3 separate regions of the Homo sapiens genome follow, and all the other regions are linked to region 2. Evidence: promoter capture Hi-C in 16 types of primary human blood cells and fetal thymus (Javierre and others, 2016). All regions are on one chromosome and are shown on one strand. The core of a region is centred on a gene start or on the middle of the fragment in contact, and the rest is flanking DNA. Distances in the headings are between cores, read along the strand shown.

Region 1 (2,700 bases), core at 33-2,532, 190 kb before region 2:
AAAGCCTGAAGCTCTGAGGAGAGGACCCAGCTATCGTAAAAGAAGGTTATTATTATAGTCACCTTTAGCCAGAGCCAACTAGTGACAAGTTCCAGTTGGTTTGCTCATCCATTTAGGAACCCTGCAGGGTTCAGATCTCTATCCCTATTTCACAAAGGCCCATCTCTCACCCCATTTTCACCAAGACTTTGTGGCTGCCTCCCTCCCATGCCCAATGGATGGACCAGATCAAACGATCTGACACCATCTTGGTTCAATTGCCTTGACTTGCACTGGGGCTCAGAAAATGATACCCCGAAGTATGGCGCTTGAGCATGCTAAGTACTTTGAACTGAAGGAAATTGGAAAGCTTCAGAAGCAAGGACTCTCTGACCTTCTCCTGCTCTCCTATCTCTTACCCCTCTTTATTTTCCCTGCCAAAGCAAGTCATAGAAATCAGAATTCCTCTTCCCTAAGGTGGCTCATAGAAACTAGAACCACTTTCCCCAAAAGCAAGCCATAAAAACCTAGAAAGGCCACCCTCTCCCTTCTCCCTTGAAGACCTTAATTTCAGAGGTTCCTGACTTATACCCCAGGGGAGGGACTGTTACAGAGAAAATCCAAGAAGAATCTGGACAGGCCCTGCTGGGTCTCCGGCTTCATGACCATTAGATCACACCCTTTTGTTCAATCACATTTCTATACAGCTGTCCATTTTTCATGAAACCTAAACATAAAAACAGAGATTTCCCTAGATTTTGGGGTCTGCATTTCTGAAGGCTCCCATGTCACATAACACGTGATTAAATACATTTGTTATGCTTTTCTTTGTTAGCCTAGCTTTTGTTATGGTGGTGACCCTTAAGATGGGTGAGAGATCATACCTTTCCCCCCTACGCTTTGCAGCATGACCTTAGGCTCAGGGTTCCTCCTTTAGCTTCATTCTCTCCATGTCTGTCTTTGTATTTGCCACCTTCTTTCTGGGATGATAAACTGGTCAACAGTAACAATGCTGGCTGCATTTCACTGAGTAACTTCCCACATGGTTCTAAACCCTTTGTATGTATTTATATTTTTTCTTTCTTTTTTTTTTTTTGAGATGGAGTCTTGCTCTGTCACCCAGGCTGGAGTGCAGTGGCACAATCTTGGCTCACTGCAACCTCCGCCTCCCAGATTCAAGCGATTCTCCCGCCTCAGCCTCCCGAGCAGCTGGGACTACAGGTGTGTGCCACCACACCCAGCTAATTTTTGTATTTTCAGTAGAGATGGCAGTTCACCATATTGGCCAGGCTGGTCTCAAACTCCTGACCTCGTGATCCCCCCACCTTGGCCTCCCAAAGTGCTGGGATTACAGGCGTGAGCCACCGCGCCCAACCTATATATAATTTAATCCTATAAATTTCTTACTATTAGGTTGGTGCAAAAGTAATTGCAGTTTTTGATATTTAAAAGTAATAGCAAAGACCACAACTACTTTTGCTCCAACCTAATATTATTAACCACATTTTTACAGAGGCATAGGAAGTCCAGTAACATACCAACTTTAAACCCTGTGTTTTTCATCAAAATTGAAGGCAGACAACAGATAGGAAGGGCCAGAGAGCAGTCTTGGCTTTTTTAAGCCCATGACTATATCCGTGAACCCTCCTGCTGATGTTTTCCCAAAGGGCCTGTCCAGCTGGTGTTGATCAGTCCTTTGCTTCAGACTGAAGGGTGAAAGTCTGGAACAAAGGACTTTGAAAGACTTGAGATGTTAAAAAGGCCATTTGATCTCAGAAAGTCACCAGAATTCCAGAAATTTCCTTAGGGTGCAAAGAGCTGCCAAAAAAGAAAGAGGAAAGGGAAAGGGAGGGGAGGGGAGGAAAAAGGAGGGAAGGGGAGGGGAGGAGAGGGAACAGGAAAGGGGAAAATGGAAAGGGGAAAGGAAAAAGGAAAGGAGAAAGGGACGGAGGGAAGGAGAGAGGAAGGGAGGAAGGAATGAAAGAAAAAGTCTTCTCTTGGTTCTGGATAACATGGAGGTACTTCATGAAACCACCTGGGTGTTCAGAAGCCCCAGCCAAAGGCATTGTCCCAAAGGGGCCACTGGGAAGTGGAGGCTTCTCTATGAAAAGTGCACTAAAGTACAGGCTAAGAAGGTGGAGAGAGAGGTCACAGTTTGGTATTCTCGTTTTAGGGGTTGGGTGGTAGGTTTTTTTGCACTAGTTGTTGGGTTTTTTAAAGTTTCTCCTGAAGCTTGTGTTTTCAGATGACTATCTTCTGAGCAGTCAAGCAAATGGACAAACACATTAAGGCAAAAACAAACATTTACATAGTCAGGGAAGTCGTTTCTCCCAAGTCCCCTAGTTCACAGGACCATATCCATTTAGGAATTAAAACAAGCTGACTTTTTTTTTTCTGAGGAGAGTGGATTCTTTCCAGAATTCCCATATCTAGAAAGCAGGAGAGAAACAAACTTTAATGACAGGGTCCTTTCTTCCCTTTCCACAAACGACCCAATTGTCATGAGTAATGCACTTTTTCTGTTTGCAGCCTCATCATGATCCAGCAAATGAACCCCAACAATTAGCCTCTTCATTTCCATCAGACCATGTCCTTGAACTCCAGAAAGCTGCTATGGGAGCCAACCATATATATATATTTTTTTTAATTAATCTAGCTGGGCTCTGGCCAGTCATTAAAACTAGGAGATTAATCATTCCTTCCTTCTTCTTTTAAACCCAT
Region 2 (2,700 bases), core at 131-2,630:
AAATAATCTTTGATCAATTAAATAGGGAATAAAATTTCATACCACCTGCAATTAGAAGGAAAGCTACAGGCAAGCAAGGACCATGGCTGTCTTCTCACTACTCCATGGGGGAGCCTCCAGAGAGAGCCTTTCACTTGCGCTGGGATCTATGTGCACCCCTTAACACTTTGTGCCAGACTAAGACACTACCAAGTCAGTTGAAACGACGGAGTGCAAACTCTGGCAGGGGAAACAGTATTAAACCAAATCTCCAAATTATTTTCAATTTCGATTCAAAACTCATGAATGATAGCTTTTTTAAAAAATCAGTTTTTTAAAAAAGCCTAACTTGGGGATATTCGCCCATTGGGCAACCAACACTATGCACTGTCCCTAACACTGCAACAGATCCAGGCAATCAATGCAATTGTATGCGTTTCTTGTTGTCGTTGCCACTGTATTTACACCTCACTTACACAGGGACTGGTAACCCATGCTGCCTTGGCAAGCCAACTGCACTCCTCTGTCCCAACAAGCAGGGCAATGGATTGCGAAGAGGCCTCCTCCGTCCCCAAGCAGCTACGTCGCCCAGGGGAAGAGAGAAGGCGGGAAAGTCCAAGAGAGGAGAAACCAAGGCCCGCGCTTAGGTGGGTGTTTTAGTGACGAGTCTGCGGTTACAGCCGAGCGGAGTTGAAAGGGCTGTTAGAAGAATGGAGCAGAAGTCGCAGTTGGGACGAAGCTGAAGAGAGCTGGCATTCGCCCAGGTCTACAGCCAGCCACCTGGTAACCCCTGCCCCCGCCCCCAGAGCCAATCCAGCGAAACTACCGCGAATTCCCGGGAATTCCCTCCAACTCCGGGAAAACTCCCGGAGGGGCGGGGCAAGAGTGGGAGGAGACCCTGCGCGCGGCCGCCAGCGCTCCGGGATCTCGAGATAGCCGCAGCTCTCGCGATCTTTCTGGAGCCGCACCTCCACGCGGAGTCCGAGCGCGTGTGCTGAGACCCCAGGGTCGGGAGGGCGGAGACTGGGAGGGAGGGAGAAGCCCCTTTGGCCTGCCTTACGGAAGCCTGCGAGGGAGGGTGGTGTCCACTGCCCAGTTCCGTGTCCCGATGCCCAGCGCCAGCGCCAGCCGCAAGAGTCAGGAGAAGCCGCGGGAGATCATGGACGCGGCGGAAGTGGGTTTCCTCCTTTCCTGGGCCTGGGAGGACAGACCCCTGGGCCGGGCTGCGCCGAGGGAGGGAGGAGGGGGAGTGGGGCCCTACAGGTCCTTGTCGGCACGTTCTCCGCAGGCTGCGGGCGTGGGGTCCGGGCGCCTAGAGCCCTTGCCCCAGCAGTGGGGCCAGACCCTCTCCGGACCGCGTTTCTTGCGGGGGTCACCTGGGAGTTTGGCCTACTAGAAGCGTGTCCCCGGGGTGGGGAGGACGGGAAGAACCAGCCGCCCCGGAAGTAGGAGCGCGGCGTCACACTTGAGTCTCTCTGGGTTAGGCACGTCCTGCACGTAATGCACAATCCCTGGGAAAATTTTAATAAGCACTAGTAATCGATATGTACTCAGCCCTCGTGTTCCTAATGCTTTAGCAAGTAATGACAGTACTTAGCAAAACCATCTGCCAATATGTTTAATGACCATTTCCCATGTGACAGCTTTAAAGAACACATGTCATTTTTATTTACTTTCTCCCTCTCAGTGACCCGGTAAGGTAGGTAATAGGAGTTACCGAGAATGCATTTGAGGTGAAGTGACCCCAAATCACGTGGATAATTCATAACACCCAGTGATCCTTCGGTGCTTTTCAGAAATCAAAGTTTGAAACCATCCTACAAGTTATGTGTGCTGTAGTACTGTTAAGCCTTAATTTCCGTCTGGCTCCCTAATTTTTCTATAAGGAGTTCTGAGTTTGTGGTAAGCAACATGAGAAGTAAGGTCATCTTAGAATACTAAATGAGGAAGAGTCACTGAAATATTAATAGTACTAATTATGAATGCAACTTTTTTGTCCTTCACACAATTTAATCTCCTTCTGTTGCCCTCAGGCTTCATTGTGTGACTGTATCTCTCTACTCTGGCCAGGGTTATCTTTTTCTTTAAATTGTTCAGTAAGCGCCTTAAACATGTCTGGTTTTATTTTGGTGTAAACACAAAATCCAGCACCCTCCTGCTCTAAAGGAGAGGATTCCAACAGGTAGCTGTAAAGTGACAGAAACTTAATTGTTTCATACAGATCTTAAGTTACCTTGTAAAAACTAGGGCAATTATTTTTGTGTACTCTTAATCTGCTTAATTACATAAACTATCAGTGTACCCTTACAGATAGTATAGGTCTAGATACAAGGTAGACATTGTGGCAGAGTTATGCCATTTTATAGCTAGAAGAATCTTAGATCATTTTAGAGGTAAAGTAAGATTGAAATAAAGGCCACTTATCTATTTAATAAGTATATTTTGTTAACAGATTGGACCCTAGGTCTTCTGTTTCCTGTTCCTAACTCTAATCTGTAACAAGAAATTTGATATTATTATATTGTCAGTGTCAAACTCCTGTAACCTGGTATCCTGAATCTGGTTTTTAGAAACAGGAAGCTGGTGAATTTTTTGATGATGTTTTACAAAAGGAAAGTTGTAGTTAGCTTATACCCAGCATCTCCAGTTTCTAAAAACTGTGGACATCTGGTGCTCAGAAAGCTTACCCAAAACGTTGGTTCTCTTTGAACATTTCTTCCT
Region 3 (2,700 bases), core at 191-2,690, 250 kb before region 2:
TCAACACAGGCATTTGTCCCATGTGAAACAGCAACCAGTGCTTTGCAGGGCTGTGGAAAAGTTTCATTATTATGTATGAGAAGAACCTAGGAGGCATCTGATGTTGTCAAGGCTGTGCCCTGAGATGTGTTTGATGCCTTCCCTCTGCTCATTCAGGCCCCCATCTGCCTGGACCATTAGGCACTGCCACCATCATCTATGTGGTTAGACAGCACACATAGACCAGGGCCAGCCACTGCAGAGGTAACCGGCACTACCAGGCATCTCACAAGAGCATTGGCATTGAATGGCCTCTCTTTCTATCATGACCAGCTCAATTCCACTGATATTCCAGCTGGATCATGGCAAAGGCCTATTGACGAAAAACAATAGGGCTAGATCAAGGCTCTGGTGCACCTGAGTCACTGTGAGTCATATCCCCTGGAGGACCTTCTCAGCTCACCATTGTCATTAGTTAAAAAGACTCACGTAAGTCCGGCACACAGGAATGTCAAGTAGCAGCCAAGTTTGGGGGTGTTGTCCTTTGGCTTGGAAAATAATTCTCCACTAAGAAGTCCACTGATAATGGCACTCAAATGTCCCCCAAAGGTTGTTAATTTTAATTAGGGAGAATTTAAACTATAGCATCCGAAGGAATGACTAATATTTTAAAGAGTATGAGGTATTTGGTTTGCTTTGCCAGTCTTGTTTTAGCAATTTTGGTCATTCCTAATCTTCTGCAAGGACTTCCAAGGCTGAGTCTTAAGTCTGGCAAAGCAGAAACCACCCTGGTGCCTCCAAATTTTCCACCACCTTCTTCTTCACAGTATAAAATTGCCCAACCACCGTCACTCACGGACCCCTTTGTCCCCTTCTCTTCCCCTCCACCCCATAGAAGTTTGGCTGACAACCACGGTAAATGCTAATGGAAGAGATGTTGTAACTAAATGGCAGTGCATTTATATCTACATGTGTCTTCTGCAATATAAGATAAACAGACTAATCTTCCTCACCAAGCTTAGAGGGATAACGAACAAAAATTATAGTTGAGTAACCTGCCAACATAAATATTTCACAAAAGCTAAGCCACAGTAAATGGAGCCAAATTGTAGAATTGGAGTGGGACTTTCCAACAAAGATCTCCCTGAAGCATTCTCAAGTTCATTCTCTTAATAGAATAATTTCCAGTTATTTTGATATTTGGTTTTTCTAGATTTACTACCATTTTTACCATACTGATGAAATAAGTACTAATATTCATTTGCATAAAACAGCGATTTATTAGACACATGCAATGTGCCAGACATTATGCTAAACACTTTATATGGATTATCTCCTTTATCCTCAGAACAATTTTATGAGAAGGGGCTTCATTATCACCATTTTGCAGATAAGGAAATTGAGTCTCAAACAGGTGATACGATGTGGAGCCAGGAATCAAACACAAGCATCTCACCCATGGCCCATGTTCTTAACAGGGTTCATACCACATTTCCACATATGGGAAGAATCTGTGGCCCAGAGTGGTTACATTAGAGCACCTCCTCCCCTGAGAGCCACACAAGGGCCCATACCACCTTCCAGTTCATGGCTCCACCTTTGTCCTGCTCTCACAACCTTCCCAGACCTGGCCTATACCCACGTCTCCATCACTTTCCCATTCGCGGCTGCACATTTTCTTCTCTGTCCCCATCCATCACTCAGTTCCCCACCACCCCTAAATGAAATACACAAGCCAAACTTACTCCCACTGCTAGGCTTTTCTGCAAGCTGTTTCCTTCCCTGGAAGGCCTGCCTCCTCTTCGCCACCATTGGAGACCCTGGGTCAAGTCCCATCTCAAAACACCACCTTCTTACACAGCCCTCCTACCCTCTCTACCTCCTAGAAACTCATTTGAAGCTTAAATACTGCCTTCTGATATTGGTTAGCTTTGAATGCACACATATTATTAGCCCAACTAGCTTGCAAACTGCTAAACAGCATGAAACACACAGCCTGGCTCCTTTGAGTCACTTTCGCACCTAGCACAGGGCCTGGCTGCATCACTCAGCTCAGCCCCAAGGCAGTCAAGATAATTGAGTGCGTTCCAGCTGCAGGGGTATTTGGTATATATAAGACATCCCACATAACTGTTGGTTTGTGCTTGATTACCGTAACACAGCCCAAATCAATCCCTGAAAAGGGACAGGCCACAGTAGAACCAGTTCCCAGCTGTGACACCCACGTGGCCGCCCCTCACAACAGTGTGTCTGGGGCTTGTGGGAAAGCCCTAGGAATAGCCAGCTGTTCTTGCACATTGGAAGCTAAGGCAAGGATGCTACATTGGCCTTGGGGTGGAAACATGTACAGCATGCTTCTCAGATCCTCTCCGATCCTGAGTGTTCGAAAAAAATACCACTTACTGTTTTTGTTTTTATCATTCTCTAAGTAATACTATTTATGATTAAAAATAAAATAAAATAATGGGCCAAGTGCAGTGGCTCACACCTGTAATCCCAGCACTTTGGGAGGCCAAGGCGGGTGGATCACCTGAGGTCAGGAGTTCAGGACCAGCCTGGCCAACATGGTGACACCTCATCTCTACAAAAATACAAAAATTAGCTGGGCATGATAGTGGGTGCCTGTAATCCCAGCTACTCGGGAGGCTGAGGCGGGAGAATTGCTCGAACCTGGGAGGCAGGGGTTGCAGTGAGCCAAGATTGTGCCACTGCACTCTAGCC

Evidence for each region. Contacts are between HindIII fragments. The CHiCAGO score rates a contact against its expected background, and 5 or more counts as called.
Region 1: a contact is called between a fragment that was not itself captured here and the fragment with the promoter of DARS1-AS1 in region 2, in 1 of 17 cell types (neutrophils). The highest score is 5.0, in neutrophils.
Region 3: a contact is called between a fragment that was not itself captured here and the fragment with the promoter of DARS1-AS1 in region 2, in 4 of 17 cell types (monocytes, activated CD4 T cells, total CD8 T cells and 1 more). The highest score is 8.0, in monocytes.

The regions. Positions count from the first base shown.
Region 1 is chr2:136,176,471-136,179,170 of GRCh38, reverse strand. No RefSeq gene overlaps it. Among named protein-coding and RNA genes, the nearest start is that of CXCR4, 60 kb to the right of the region's middle. The HindIII fragment of the contact is 1,862 bases long and covers 352-2,213 here.
Region 2 is chr2:135,983,856-135,986,555 of GRCh38, reverse strand. DARS1-AS1 (DARS1 antisense RNA 1) reads right to left here and starts at 1,380. Exons shown (of 4, transcript NR_110199.1): 1 at 1,040-1,380. It overlaps DARS1 (aspartyl-tRNA synthetase 1), which reads left to right and starts at 930. Exons shown (of 16, transcript NM_001349.4): 1 at 930-1,153. The coding sequence starts at 1,088. RefSeq lists an enhancer at 1,084-1,183 and a silencer at 1,234-1,293. The HindIII fragment of the contact is 7,953 bases long and covers 1-2,663 here.
Region 3 is chr2:136,233,945-136,236,644 of GRCh38, reverse strand. No RefSeq gene overlaps it. Among named protein-coding and RNA genes, the nearest start is that of CXCR4, 120 kb to the right of the region's middle. RefSeq lists enhancers at 109-609, 1-905. The HindIII fragment of the contact is 883 bases long and covers 999-1,881 here.